Linked DNA regions of Homo sapiens: regions 2, 3, 4 and 5 are each linked to region 1. The links are contacts of gene promoters, found by promoter capture Hi-C in blood cells and fetal thymus (Javierre and others, 2016). All regions are on one chromosome and are shown on one strand. Each heading gives the region's core, a stretch centred on a gene start or on the middle of the fragment in contact. The rest is flanking DNA. Distances are from core to core; before and after follow the strand shown. Region 1 holds the start of GSDMA (gasdermin A). Region 2 overlaps ERBB2 (erb-b2 receptor tyrosine kinase 2). Region 3 overlaps RAPGEFL1 (Rap guanine nucleotide exchange factor like 1). Region 4 overlaps IKZF3 (IKAROS family zinc finger 3). Region 5 overlaps IKZF3 (IKAROS family zinc finger 3).

Region 1 (2,886 bases), core at 128-2,627:
GGGAGTTTTCCTAAGTGTGGAATGGTCTAGTCTCATTCACCATCAGCCCCTCAAGGAAACGTTCAGTAAAGATGGAATTGGCCGGGCGCAGTGGCTCATCCTGTAATCCCAGCACTTTGGGAGGCCGAGGCGGGCGGATCATGAGGTCAGGAGATCAAGACCCTCCTGGCCAACATGGCGAAACCCCGTCTCTAATAAAAATACAAAACTAGCCAGGCATGGTGGTGCATGCCTGTAATCCCAGCTACTCGGGAGGCTGAGGCAGAGAACTGTTTGAACCCGGGAGGTGGAAGTTGCAGTGAGCTGAGATTGCACCGCTGCACTCCAGCCTGGAGGACAGAGCGAGACTCCTTCTCAAAAAAAAAAAAGATGGAATTTACTCTTCACAGCATTCAGGGTTGCGTTTCTTTTTCCATGAGTGGTACTAAGAAGAGCCTCAAGGTGGGAGCAGGAAGGCTCTGCTGTGTCAGGTTATACCTGCACATATGCATGGCCACATGGCCCAACACTGTAAGGGCCTTGCTTGTAAGTCCCTTATTCTGTCCTCTAGCAATGTGACCATGTAGGCAACATTTGAAATTCCTTTAAAATTCCTTCTAGGCAGAGATTTAAGCTAAGAGGAGGACCTGAGTGACCTCTGGTGCAACATCTGAAAGCCCACGACAAGCCTCCTGGGCTTTTCCATGAATATCGCCGTGCCCCTGCCTACGGATATGCTGATGTGTGTATACAATATTCTGTGAGAAGCAGAGACGCTGAACACTAAACAACACAAACCCATTTGGTCTAACTCCATCTCTGCCTACTCAGACATCTGCTTCTAGCGGTATCAGAGTTATGTCTATGTAGCTAAAACAAATGGAGTAAGGCAGCAATACACACAGGCTGACAAGCCCAGGATGGAGGGCGGCACTGCAGATGCTCTGCTCTCTACTGGAATGTGTGGACATACAGGAATCCCTATCCCAGGACACCCGCAGACCCCCACCATGAATCCGAGATGCTCCCCAATGACGGTGATGATGACAGAACAGAGATGCCATCCCTGGTCACACACACACACACACACACACACACACTCCCACTGCCTCCCTCTGCACCCCTCCCAAAGGCACCTGCCTTCCTCTCCTCTCAATCCACAAGCCAACCTCCAGCTGCCACCTCTCTATCAGCCTTGGCTACCCCCACCCACGCTGGCACCTGCCTGGCAGCTCCCTATCCACCCCCTCAGCCCTCAGGAGGCCAGGGCACACGTGGAACAGGTTGATGTTGTTCTCCAGGAAGTGGAGTGGGAGGGGGGTGGGGTCACTAGGGCAGGCGGGGTCCCCGGAAGCCTCTGTCCCTGCATAAAGCAGCCTGTCCTGGCAAGGGATGGTCATCCTCTCAACCTACAGACCCAGTGAGCCCTAGGCCCTCACCCCAGACCCAGCTGCTGGATAGGACCCAGCCCCGCTCCCAGGTAAGAACTTGATGACAGCAGGGAAGGCAGGGGTGCTCTGAGGACACAGGAAGATGGGTGGACCAAGAAGGGAATGGAACTCCCCTAGAGTCCAGTGGGATAAGTATCCCGATAGGCCTTGGGGAGGGAAGGGAGAGGCAGGCCTGTGGACATCTCTCTGGTGAAGAGGAGGCTGCTGTTGCCCAAGCCCTTCCCAGGTGCACCCAGGTAGCACCAGGAGGTTGTCCTGCCCCATCCTGGCCCTCCCAGGAATGAGGGTGAAAAAAAAAAAGCACCTTGAAGCTGGCAGAACAGCCCCACGCATCTGTGCCGTGCTTCCTGCCCCCCCTGCTGCTGTGAAGTGCCTGTGGTGGATGTGGGATGCTTCCAAGCCAGCTGGTGTGGCCTCTTCCACCCACGGGGATAACTGGGGTGTGCCGATCGGCCACCCAGCCAGAGCACCTGGACTCAAACTTCAAAGACAGAGACTTAAGATGTTGACCCTCAGGTCAGGTGCGGTGGCTCACACCTGTAATCCCAGCACTTTGGGAGGGTGAGATGGGCGGATCACCTGAGGTCAGGAGTTCAAGACCAGCCTGGCCAACATGGTGAAACACCGTCTCTACTAAAAACACAAAAATTAGCTGGGCATGGTGGCAGGCGCCTGTAATCCCAGCTACCTGGGAGACTGAGGCAGGAGAATCACTTGAACCCAGGAGATGGAGGTTGCAGTGAGCCGAGATCATGCCATTGCACTCCAGCCTGGGCAACAAGAATGAAACTCCATCTCAAAAAGAAAAAAAAAATGTTGCCTCTCAGGTTCCCATGGGCCCCACATTCTCCAGGGCCCTCTCATCCTAGCGCACATCTCTCAGGGCCACATTCATTGGTTCTTTCCACACACATTTGCCAAGCTCGAACTCTGTGCCAGGTGTGGTACTTGCTGCTGCAGAGGTGACTAAGACCCATTTCCTGCCCTCTGGGAAGTCACAGACGAGTTGCTGATAGGGTCAGGTGAACAGATCATAACAAAGGAAGGTGCATCAGAAGAGCGCTTTGGAAACACAGATACAGTCACCAGCTGCCTGGAGGACTGAGGGAAGAGGTTCCAGGAGGTGACCTGAATTGAGCATTAGCGGAGGACTAGGGAGTCTTCAGATCCGGAAGCGGGTATTGTAAGCAGAGGGGGCAAAGGTGAAGAGCATCAAAATGCCTGGATCCTGGCTGGGCACAGAGGCTCACACCTGTAATCACAGTACTTTGGGAGGTCAAGGAGGGCGGATCATTTGAGGTCAGGAGTTCGAGACCAGCCTGACCAACATGGTGAAACCCTGTCTCCATTAAAAATACAAAAATTAGCCAGGCGTGGTGGCACACACCTGCAGTCCCAGCTACTCGGGAGGCTGAGGCAGGAGAATCGCTTGAATCTGAGAGGTGGAGACTGCAGG
Region 2 (2,886 bases), core at 242-2,741, 250 kb before region 1:
TGATTCTCCTGCCTCAGCCTCTCGAGTAACTGGGACTATAGGCGCGCGGCACCACACCCAGCTAATTTTTGTATTTGTAGTAGAGATGGGGTTTCACCATGTTGGCCAGGATGGTCTCCATCTCTTGACTTCGTGATCCGCCCGCCTCGGCCTCCCAAAGTGCTGGGATTACAGGCGTGAGCCACTGAGCCCAGGCAGAAATAAGATTTCTAGATCAAAGGATATAAATACTGTTTTGATAGATGTTGCCGAACTAAGGCCTGGGCTTTGAAGCCCAGGATGGGAACAGCTGGGCTCGATGGGCAAAGGGTTTGAGTGAAGGCATTCATGGTGGGGAGTGGCTGGCATGGCCAGTGCTGGGAGTGATGTCCACCCTGTTCCTGGCCCTGCTGACTCCTCTCCTGACCCCTCCAGGGACCCAGCCTCCAACACTGCCCCGCTCCAGCCAGAGCAGCTCCAAGTGTTTGAGACTCTGGAAGAGATCACAGGTGGGCTCTGTCTCTGCATCCTGTTCTGCAGGGGCTGGGAGTCCTTGTCCTGTCCCCACTCCTTTAATCTCACCCTCTGCCTGCAGGTTACCTATACATCTCAGCATGGCCGGACAGCCTGCCTGACCTCAGCGTCTTCCAGAACCTGCAAGTAATCCGGGGACGAATTCTGCACAAGTGAGCACTGAGAAAGAGGGGGCCTGATGGGGAGGAGTCCCAGGGAGGAGTCCCTGTGGGAAGCTTTGGGCCTGAGGGAGTACTCCTGTAGCAGTAACCTTTCCATGAAAGTCTGCAGAGTGTGCTGGGGATGGAGGAAGATGAGAATAGCCTTTGCTGACCGGGAAGGGGTCCGTGGTAAGGTGCCCACCTTTCTCCCATAGTGGCGCCTACTCGCTGACCCTGCAAGGGCTGGGCATCAGCTGGCTGGGGCTGCGCTCACTGAGGGAACTGGGCAGTGGACTGGCCCTCATCCACCATAACACCCACCTCTGCTTCGTGCACACGGTGCCCTGGGACCAGCTCTTTCGGAACCCGCACCAAGCTCTGCTCCACACTGCCAACCGGCCAGAGGACGAGTGTGGTAAGACAGGGAGCCCAGTGTGCGCACTCCCCATCTGCCAGCACACAGCAGTGCCCAGGGGGCCCTGGCAGCAGCGTTCTTGGACTTGTGCAGACTGCCCGTCTCTGTGCACCCTTCTTGACTCAGCACAGCTCTGGCTGGCTTGGCCTCTTGGCATGGCTTCTCTAGCTGGGTCCTACCTGCCTTGGCATCCTTCCCTCCCCCTCTGTTTCTGAAATCTCAGAACTCTTCCTCTCCCTACATCGGCCCCACCTGTCCCCACCCCTCCAGCCCACAGCCATGCCCACAGCCAGTTCCCTGGTTCACTTGGACCTGGGGCCTCCCCTAAAAGTCCCCTGCGGTCCCTTCCTCCTCACTGCAGTGGGCGAGGGCCTGGCCTGCCACCAGCTGTGCGCCCGAGGGCACTGCTGGGGTCCAGGGCCCACCCAGTGTGTCAACTGCAGCCAGTTCCTTCGGGGCCAGGAGTGCGTGGAGGAATGCCGAGTACTGCAGGGGTATGAGGGGCGGAGGAGAGGGTGGCTGGAGGGGTGCATGGGGCTCCTCTCAGACCCCCTCACCACTGTCCCTTCTCTCAGGCTCCCCAGGGAGTATGTGAATGCCAGGCACTGTTTGCCGTGCCACCCTGAGTGTCAGCCCCAGAATGGCTCAGTGACCTGTTTTGGACCGGTGAGCTGCTGGCGGGCTCAGAGCTGGGTGGAGGGGGGCAGCGAGGGGGATTGCCAGGGACTTGGCAGGATGGCGAGATGCAGTAGGGTGTGCTATCTGGTAAAATATCCCTGGAGAGGGCTCAGCGCTCAGACCTGAACAGCAACAGAGTGGCAGAAAAGGGGCCTGGGGGACACTGGGGCCCTTCAGACTATGAAAAGGTTCTAAGGAGGTCTGTGTTGGTGGCTGTGACTGTGGCTGTGCTAGGGTGGTGAGCCCTGTGGGCTCAGGCGTCAGACTACCTGGATTCAGACCCAGCTCCTGCTTCCAACCTTGGTTTTTTATTCCTAAAATGGGTATTGTAATAATACCTACCTTGCTGGGGTGTGGCAAGAATGAAATTAAACAGGGCTTGGCACAGTGAAGCACGGGAAAGGCTTTCTACAGAGCAGTGACTGTTGTTACTCGCTGTTACACCTTAGGTAATGCGTTTTCCTCTCTGGGTGCCTCCCATTTTCTGGCTCAAGTCCCTGCCCAGGATCAAGCTTGGAGGAGGGCCCCGAGGGAGGGGCCACAGAGACTGGGTGAAGAGCAAGGGTGTTTGTCCCAGGAGCATGGCGAAAATTGCTGCTGGGTGGCCTTGGGAAGCACAAAGGGGACCCAACTAAGGGCCTGATCCTACTGCCCTGGGGGTGTCAGTGCCAGCCCCCCACAAATCTTTTCTGCCCCCCCCAGGAGGCTGACCAGTGTGTGGCCTGTGCCCACTATAAGGACCCTCCCTTCTGCGTGGCCCGCTGCCCCAGCGGTGTGAAACCTGACCTCTCCTACATGCCCATCTGGAAGTTTCCAGATGAGGAGGGCGCATGCCAGCCTTGCCCCATCAACTGCACCCACTCGTGAGTCCAACGGTCTTTTCTGCAGAAAGGAGGACTTTCCTTTCAGGGGTCTTTCTGGGGCTCTTACTATAAAAGGGGACCAACTCTCCCTTTGTCATATCTTGTTTCTGATGACAAAAATAACACATTGTTAAAATTGTAAAATTAAAACATGAAATATAAATTAATGCCCTAGCAGTTCTATCCCCACTGTTAATAATTTGAAATATTTTTCCTCTAGTTATTTTTGTCTGTGCACATTCTAATATGTATATATAAGTTAACATATATTAATATT
Region 3 (2,886 bases), core at 142-2,641, 230 kb after region 1:
GGGAGGCTGAGGCAGGAGAATCACTTGAACCGCGGAGGCGGAGGTTGCAGTGCCGAGATCAAGACACTGTGCTCCAGTCTGGGCAACAAGAGCGAAACTCCGTCTCAAAAAAAAAAAAAAAGTTTGGGAGGCACTGGTCTAGGACTCAGGTTCTGATCTGAGTGCTGCCCCTCACTCACCTATGGATTGTATTCTGATCCTTTAACCTCCCTGTGTATGTAAGGATGCCACATTTCACAGGCTAAAGACACAGGATGAGTGGGAAGGCAGAAAGCCAGCAATGTCACTGAAGCTTTGTTTTCCTCTACAGTAGGAAAAAATTTCAGCCTTCCCAGTGTCACAAGGACAACAGAGTAAGAGAAAAGCTGTGAAAGAAAGGGAGTAGAAAAAAAGTTATAAATGCAAAAGAAATAATCATTTGACAAATTCCAGATAAATATGGCATAAACTAGTGATAAGATGAGTTCCATTAGTCTAGAATGTGTCAGTGTGGGGTGAGGAGTTTTTGGATAGGACAGTGTCAGTGTGGGATGTGTGAGGGTGCAGGCGGCAGGGGCCGAGGATGAGCAGCTCTTTCTCCTGCAGAGAAGGTCCTTCTCCAGCCCACTGAGGACTGTGTTTTCACCGCACTGGGCATCAACAGCCACCTGTTTGCCTGTACTCGGGACAGCTATGAGGCTCTGGTAAGAACTTCCCAAGGCCTTGACTGGAATGGAGGGCTGAGGAGGGCTGTGAGCAATCCCTCACCCTGCCACCAGGAGCCCAGCCCCTATGCCCCTGCCTGCCACCAGGTGCCCCTCCCCGAGGAGATCCAGGTCTCCCCTGGAGACACAGAGATCCACCGAGTGGAGCCTGAGGACGTTGCCAACCACCTAACTGCCTTCCACTGGGAGCTGTTCCGATGTGTGCATGAGGTGGGGACCGAGGCTGGTGCTATGCTGGGGGGCTGGAGGGAGAAATGTGCCATTGGGAGACGGTGTTCGCAGCACAACGTCCTGGTTCCAAGGCTCACTTGCAGCAAGCCCTTGGGCAACGCATGGCCGTAACCTTTGTTCCCCCATCTGAAAAAAATCGCAAAGAGAGAGACCCCAGAGCACAGTGGCTCAGGGCCCAAGTGCTGTTTACACAGAACCTGACCCAGGATTTCTATTTTTAAAATATTCACTATTAAAGAAATAAAATAAGGCAGAGACAATAATGCCTAGCAGATGGTTGTCTTGAGGATGTCAGCCGTGAGCGAATGCCTGGCACCTAGTAAGTGCTCAGTAGCTGGTGAAATATTATTAATGCTGGTTGTTTTCTTTTTCCGCATCTTTGCCGCCTCCTGTCCTTTCTATTTTTCTATTTTCCACCCCTTCCGCCCCCGCCCTCCTGCCTTTCGCTCCTCATCGCCTTGCACTGCCATCTTCCCACCCACTCCCCTCACCCCCTGGCGCCCTGGCCGCCCCTCCGCTGCCGTGGGTGCAGCTGGAGTTCGTGGACTACGTGTTCCACGGGGAGCGCGGCCGCCGGGAGACGGCCAACTTGGAGCTGCTGCTGCAGCGCTGCAGCGAGGTCACGCACTGGGTGGCCACCGAAGTGCTGCTCTGCGAGGCCCCGGGCAAGCGCGCGCAGCTGCTCAAGAAGTTCATCAAGATCGCGGCCCTGTGAGTGCGGCCGTCGGCGGGATGGGGGGCCGGAGGCCGGAGGCCCGCGCCGCCGCCCGCCCCTGACCCCGCCTCCCACCCCCGCAGCTGCAAGCAGAACCAGGACCTGCTGTCTTTCTACGCCGTGGTCATGGGGCTGGACAACGCCGCTGTCAGCCGCCTTCGACTCACCTGGGAGGTGATGAGACCCCTCCCGTTCCTACCTGGGAATCTGGGCATCCCGGGCTCCCCGAAGTGCGTCCTCCCGGGACGGCCGCCGGCCTGGAGGGAGTCTTTGCGCCAGTTGGAGGGAGGCGCCCTCTTCTGGCATACGCAACCCCAGGGCGCACAGCTTGGCTAATGGACCCTGTCTTTGTGCAAATTAGTGAAAAGCCCGGATCCCGCCTGAGTCACGGCAGGCAGCCCTTGGCCAGGTCAGGTCGCAGACTTGGCTGTGGGAGTTGGGCTGATTTTCATCCACACTCAGTGGGGGCATCTTTATACAAAGCACCTGCATAAGACAGACCTGGCCTTCCCCAGAATAATGAATTCCTCTGGGCTGTTTCAAGCCTCTAGACTTAGCCAAGGCCTGACTTCATTTCCCCACCCACCAGCTTCCCAGCCCCCTACAAGCCATGCAGGCCCTTTTGCCCTCCAACAGGGAGAATTAATCCGAGGCTCCCATGTAACCCAAGGAGCTCCACTCTGATATCCCTTCTCCTTCCTTCAAACTCTGCAGAAGCTGCCAGGGAAATTCAAGAACTTGTTTCGCAAATTTGAGAACCTGACGGTGAGTGGGTTTGGCTCTTTCTTCTGCTCTTGGACTGAGAGCCCAGAAACCCTCTGTTCCCATAAACCCCCTTCCTCAAGCTTTCCTTTCAAGGTGTTTAGTGTATGGGACCCCCCACCCTCCTTACCATGCTGGAGGGTGAGGTTGGAAGGATTGCGCCCCTGTTTTTCTTGAAGGAAAGGGGGAGTAGTCAGGTCCCTCCCCACCACACCATTAGAAAGCCCCCAGCACCCCTATCTGATCAGGAATGTATACAAGGCAGGGGGTGAGGGAGGAAGCTGAGGACATCTTTGGGATGCATTGGCCAGTCTGTCCCTTGATCTCTCTCCTGTGGAATACTAGGACCCCTGCAGGAACCACAAAAGCTACCGAGAAGTGATCTCCAAAATGAAGCCCCCTGTGATTCCCTTCGTGCCTCTGATCCTCAAAGGTGAGAGAGTTACTCCCAAGCTGTGCCGCTTCCACCCATGC
Region 4 (2,886 bases), core at 132-2,631, 180 kb before region 1:
CATCACATCCATTTAGGAAATTGGATATCAACTACTCCCATCTCCTGTCATGATGATGCTTTAGTTAATATCTTTTATTCTATTTTCCAGAGCTATCAGAATGAACCATGAAGAATAAAAGTACACAATGAAAAACTAATTATTTTAACAGAGGTTAAGCTAGGAAAGGCCTTGTGTAGCAAGCATCCTATGTTATTTCATTCAAACTATCTGCTAACAACAGCAGGAAAAAGGTTTGTATTCTTACCAATGAATTTCTGAGGCATTGAGCTTTTTCGTTTTGCCACATTGCTTGCTAATCTGTCCAGTACGAGAGCTCTTTCACTTCCCATCTCTGCTTTGATGTGTCTTGCCTCCGCACTTGCTAGTTTGGAAAAATGTAAAAAGAAGAGAGAAAAGAACACATTGGTACATGGGGAGAAAAGGAAATAAACTGGAAGGAGAAGTGTCCGAAGTTGGATGCACACTCTATTGTTGTTACCTGTTATAACTGCTCAGATTCTTGCCTGGGGTACCTGCTGTGGTCAGTGAAGCCGACACCAGGGCACATTCAAATCTTGCAGTCTTATGCCGAGATGGGAAAGCTCGACCCATCCCCAACCAGTACCTTCATTAGCAAGAGGAAGTATTAAATAAACAGCCTGGACGTGGTTGGTTGCAAAAAGATAGATAGATGGAGATCTAACCCCCGATCAGCCTTCTTTCTGATTCTGAGTAACTGCGTGTGACACCTGCAGACTGATATAATTCTTAACAACTTTGAAAAAAAAGCATGGTGCCCCAGATTTACTGCTCTGTTTATGTTAACAGCACTTTTGAAAATAGGTACACTCACACAGATAGCAAGACATCTACTCAGTGATTTGTGTATTGAAATTCTGAGTGGTTTCTTTCTTTTTCTTTTTCTTTTTTTTTTTCAGCACGCTCCTCTCAGTTCCTATCTTTCATATTCTGTTTCTCTGTGCTCTGTATTATCTGTTTCATATGCTCTTCACATTTCAAAATAGTCTCAATTAAAATTTCCCTAAGCAACACTTCTGCCTTGAAATTAAAGAACAATTTGTATAATGCATCTGTATTGAATTTCTAATAAAAATGTGAATAAAAACTGCCTATGGGCTGGGTGCGGTGGCTCATGCCTGTAATCCCAGCACTTTGGGAGGTGGAGGTGGGCAGATCACCTGAGGTCGGAGTTCGAGACCAGCCTGACCAACTTGGAGAAACCCTGTCTCTACTAAAAATACAAAATTAGCCTGGTGTGATGGTGCATGCCTGTAATCCCAGCTACTCGGGAGGCTGAGGCAGGAGAATCACTTGAACCTGGGAGGCAGAGGTTGCAGTGAGCCGAGATGGCGCCATTGCACTCCTGCCTGGGCAACAAGGGCAAAATTCCGTCTCAAAAAACAAAGAAACAAACAAAACACAAAAAAACCTGCCTATGAATGTGGGCCCATCCACAAATAGACCTGTGAGTGGTGTAGGCCTGTGGTTCTCAGACCTGGCTGCACATTAGACTCACCTGAATAGCAGGTAAGAAATACCTATGCCCAGGCCCCCCTTCAGATCAATTAAATCAGGATTTCTGGTATAGGGGCCTAGGCAAGAATATTTTCAAAGCTCCCCAGATGATTTTAAAATGCAGCCAGAATTGAGAACTACTAGAAGAGTATATAAATAGTGGCAATATCTAATCAACTAAAATAGTAAACTGTAATGAATATAATTTACCTCAATTCAGCAGGCAGTGCCCAAATTTATGTCTAAAGTTCAAAGAAGGCCAGGCACGGTGGCTCACGTCTATAATCCCAGCACTTTGCAAGGCCGAGGCGGGCAGATCACCTGAGGTCGGGAGTTCAAGACCAGCCTGACCAACATGGAGAAACCCCATCTCTACTAAAAATATAAATAATTAGCTGGGTGTGGTGGCGAATGCCTGTAATCTTAGCTCTCGGGAGGCTGAGGCCGGAGAATCGCTTGAACCCAGGAGGCAGAGGTTGTGGTGAGCCGAGATTGAGCCATTGCACTCCAGCCTGGGCAATAAGAGCAAAACTCCATCTCCAAAAAATAAATAAATTAATTAAATAAATTTCAAAGAGATACCAGCTTCTCTAAATACAAGGCTTGACATTTTAACACATGATGCTAGCCTGAACCAGGGATCAGCAAACTTTTGTCTGTAAAGGGCCAGACAGTAAATTTTAAAAATTTGCCAGACACATATAGTCTCTATGTTATATTCTTTGTTTTTTGTTTTTTTTTTTTCTGTTCCACGGCCTTTTAAAAACGTAAAAATCCCTGTACACAAACAGGCCACTGGCTGCACTTGCCTAGAGCGCCACAGTTTGCCCTCACCTGCCCTGGGCAAACATATTGTGATGCTGTAAACATTTTTCTCTGTTTTCTCATAAACACTTCGGGAGATCCAAACTAAAATGAACTATCCATACATTTCTATTATGTCTAAGGAAGAATAAATTGAAATTAGTTTAAGGGATTAGAGTAAAAAGCAAGTAGTGGCTGGCACAGTGGCTCACCCCTGTAATCCCAGTGCTTTGGGAGACTGAGGCAGGAAGATTGCTTGAGGCCAGGAGTTGAGACCAACCTGGGCAATATAGCAAGATCCTGTTCCTACAAAAAGTAATTTTAAAAAATTAGCTGGGCATGTTGGCATGCGCCTGTAGTCCTAGCTACTTGGGAGACTGAGGTGGGAGGGTTCCTTGAGCCCAGGGGTTTGAGGTTACGGTGAACTATTAAGGTAACTGCAAAGACCACAATTACTTTTGCACCAACCTATTAGTGCCAGTGCACTCCAGCCTGCGTGACAGAGTGAGACTCTGTCTAAAAAAAAAAAAAAAAGCCCCAAAGTATTAAATATTTCTAATTTTA
Region 5 (2,886 bases), core at 198-2,697, 160 kb before region 1:
AACCTCTGCCTCCCTGGTTCAAGCGATTCTCCTGCCTCAGCCTCCTGAGTAGCTGGGATTACAGGTGCCCACCACCACACCTGGCTATTTTTTTAATTTTTTTTTTTTAGTAGAGACGGGGTTTCACCATCTTGGCCAGGCTGGTCTTGAACTCCTGACCTCGTGATCCACCCACCTCGGCCTCCCAAACTGCTGGGATTACAGGAGTGAGCCACTGCGCTCGGCCTCAACATTCCTTTCTAGACAGATTTAAGACACAGGTGGTCCAGGAGCGGTGGCTCACACCTGTAATTCCAGCACTTTGGGAGGCCGAGGCGGGTGGATCATGAGGTCAGGAGATCGAGACCATCCTGACTAACATGGTGAAACCCCATCTCTACTAAAAATACAAAAAAATTAGCCAGGCGTGGTGGTGTGCGCCTATAGTCCCAGCTACTCAAGAGGCTGAGGCAGGAGAATCGCTTGAACCTGGGAAGTGGAGGTTGCAGTGAGCTGAGATCCCACCACTGCACTCCAGCTTGGGTGACAAAGTGAGACTCCGTCTCAAGAAAAAAAAAAAAAGACATAGGTAAGCTATGCTTACTGCCTCTACAGCCTCAAAAAGGACTCAGAATTCTCTGTAATATGGCTTCCGCCTCCACAATTCACTTAATCTGCTCCCTTGAATATCACCAACCATAATCTCCTGATTCCTAGATTCAGAGCCTTTTTGTATGCCACTCTCTCCAACTTCTTTGTAATCCTCAACACTACTGACCACTCACCATTCCTTGTTCTTCTGCACTCCTATGTCTTTTCTTTCTTTCTTTTTTTTTTTTTTTGAGACAGAGTCTCACTCTGTTGCCCAGGCTAGAGTACAGTGGTGCGATCTCGGCTCACTGCAACCTCTGCTTCCCAGGTCCAAGCGATTCTCCTGCCTCAGCCTCCCGAGTAGCTGGGACTATAGGCACGTGCCACCACACCTGGCTAATTTCTGTATTTTTAGTAGAGACAGGGTTTTACCATGTTGGCCAGGCTGGTCTCGAACTCCTGACTTCAGGTGATCCACCTGTCTTGGCCTCCCAAAGTGTTGGGATTACAGGCATGAGCCACCGTGCCCGGCCCCTGCACTCCTATTTCTTCAATGAAAATGTACCTTCTTTCCTTGCCTTTCTGATTGCTTCCTTCTTGCCCCTTTTCTTCCCTCTGCATCCTAAATACTGTCCTTAACCTTCTTTTTTCTTCCCTCTACACCCCTCTTGTATGGCAATTTCATTCATTCTTAAGGCTTCGACTAACATCTTATATGATTAATTTCCATATATATAACTCCAGGTGTAACCTCTCTCCCTTTCTTTAGTCCTCTATTTCTGAAGGCTTCCTAGGTATCTTCCCAGTTACTCAGGCTAGAATCCTTAGAGTCATCTTTCCTTTCTCCTGATTGGGCCCCACATTCAATCATTCAGTGGTTCTATCTGTGTATCCAATCTCTAATCTGTTTCTCCACTCCTGTATTTTGCATGCCCATTACCTAATTCTCAGACCCTATGACTTTCCCACGATCTACTTATTGCTGTAGCCCCCGCACTGTTCTCTTTGGCTCCCTTCTTTCTCCTTTCCAGCCCGTCTTGTTTGTTGCTACAAGATTGCTCTTCCTAAATTCTACCTCTGGTCATGTCATAGCCCTGTCAAAATTCTTCAATATTTTCCACTGCCAACAAAATAAAGTCCAAACTCAGAAACAAATAATTTAAAAGGCCTTTCGGGATCTGGCCCCAACCTATCTTTGGCATATTAATTTTGACTAGTTAGATCTTTAACTAAAGAGCTTCTAAGTAGTCTTATTTCTACTGCCTAAAAGATCTTTCCCCAATATGGCCACAGGTCCAAGTCCTACACATCCTACGTATTTTTTTTTTTTTTTTGAGACGGAGTCTTTCTCTGTCTCTCAGGCTGGAGTGCAGTGGTGCGATCTCTGCTCACTGCAACTTCTGCCTCCCGGGTTCATGCCATTCTCTTGGCTCAGCCTCCTGAGTAGCTGGGACTACAGGCGCCCACCACCATACCCAGCTAATTTTTTGTATTTTTAGTAGAGACAGGGTTTCACTGTGTTAGCCAGGATGGTCTCAATCTCCTGACCTCGTGATCCGCCGGCCTCGGCCTCCCAAAGTGCTGGGATTACAGGCATGAGCCACTGCGCCTGGCCACTGTCCTACACATTTTTAAAGGTCAAACTAATATGCTGTCTCCTGGCTACTATGCCTTCTCTGATCAACCCAGCTGGAAAATAGCCTGCTCCTTCTTCCTGGGTTACTTATGAACTCACCTCCCCTAGTCTCCCCAATAAATATGTAAACTAGCTGAGGGCAGAAGCTATACAGATTGTGTGTGTGTGTGCGTGTGTGTGTGTGTGTGTGTGTGTTTAACTCAGTATTCCCTATGACACTGCTTAACCTGTATCTGTAAGACCAGAGGTTATGTGGTTTTAAAATAGAAAATTTGGGGCTCCTACCATAGATCTACTAATCTGGGGGTGGAGACTGGAAATGTTCATTTAAAACCATGCTCTCCAGATAAACCTTATGCACAATGGAGTTTGAGAGCCACTGCCTCGAGTTAGATGCAGTGCCCTACATAAAGTAGACATCCCATAAATTCCTGGTGTATGAATATATCATTGCATTAGCCTCCTAACTGGCCCACGGTACATGTGACCTCTGTTATACTGCATCCTATTGCCAGAATAATCATGCTGTAGCAAAGAAACTCTTATTTAAAACTTTCAATGATTTCATTTGCTTATAGAATAAAGTCCAAACTCCTTAATGAGGTATTCAAGCACCTGTCCAGAACTTGCCCCAGGACTACTTAATCATCTCATTTCTCAGTCTTCTTGAATCACCTTTC

The links. The method cuts DNA at HindIII sites, captures the fragments that hold promoters and counts their contacts. A CHiCAGO score of 5 or more calls a contact.
Region 2: a fragment that was not itself captured here is called in contact with the fragment with the promoter of GSDMA in region 1 in 1 of 17 cell types (activated CD4 T cells); the score reaches 5.8 in activated CD4 T cells.
Region 3: a fragment that was not itself captured here is called in contact with the fragment with the promoter of GSDMA in region 1 in 1 of 17 cell types (endothelial precursors); the score reaches 5.4 in endothelial precursors.
Region 4: a contact is called between a fragment that was not itself captured here and the fragment with the promoter of GSDMA in region 1, in 7 of 17 cell types (activated CD4 T cells, naive CD4 T cells, total CD4 T cells and 4 more). The highest score is 7.5, in activated CD4 T cells.
Region 5: a contact is called between a fragment that was not itself captured here and the fragment with the promoter of GSDMA in region 1, in 1 of 17 cell types (activated CD4 T cells). The highest score is 6.8, in activated CD4 T cells.

What each region holds. Positions count from the first base shown.
Region 1 is chr17:39,961,627-39,964,512 of GRCh38, forward strand. It overlaps GSDMA (gasdermin A), which reads left to right and starts at 1,378. Exons shown (of 12, transcript NM_178171.5): 1 at 1,378-1,459. The HindIII fragment of the contact is 5,749 bases long and covers 1-2,886 here.
Region 2 is chr17:39,714,872-39,717,757 of GRCh38, forward strand. ERBB2 (erb-b2 receptor tyrosine kinase 2) reads left to right here. Exons shown (of 27, transcript NM_004448.4): 10 at 415-488; 11 at 575-665; 12 at 869-1,068; 13 at 1,430-1,562; 14 at 1,644-1,734; 15 at 2,449-2,609. Among named protein-coding and RNA genes, the nearest start is that of MIR4728, 10 kb to the right of the region's middle. The HindIII fragment of the contact is 1,530 bases long and covers 727-2,256 here.
Region 3 is chr17:40,189,849-40,192,734 of GRCh38, forward strand. RAPGEFL1 (Rap guanine nucleotide exchange factor like 1) reads left to right here. Exons shown (of 15, transcript NM_016339.6): 7 at 586-683; 8 at 792-914; 9 at 1,468-1,646; 10 at 1,734-1,824; 11 at 2,365-2,415; 12 at 2,758-2,845. Among named protein-coding and RNA genes, the nearest start is that of MIR6867, 2.3 kb to the right of the region's middle. RefSeq lists a silencer at 1,634-1,693 and an enhancer at 1,814-1,893. The HindIII fragment of the contact is 2,203 bases long and covers 291-2,493 here.
Region 4 is chr17:39,777,404-39,780,289 of GRCh38, forward strand. It overlaps IKZF3 (IKAROS family zinc finger 3), which reads right to left. Exons shown (of 8, transcript NM_012481.5): 7 at 248-364. Among named protein-coding and RNA genes, the nearest start is that of GRB7, 41 kb to the left of the region's middle. RefSeq lists a silencer at 978-1,211. The HindIII fragment of the contact is 4,957 bases long and covers 1-2,886 here.
Region 5 is chr17:39,796,620-39,799,505 of GRCh38, forward strand. All of the region lies in intron 3 of IKZF3 (IKAROS family zinc finger 3), which reads right to left. Among named protein-coding and RNA genes, the nearest start is that of GRB7, 60 kb to the left of the region's middle. The HindIII fragment of the contact is 6,358 bases long and covers 1-2,886 here.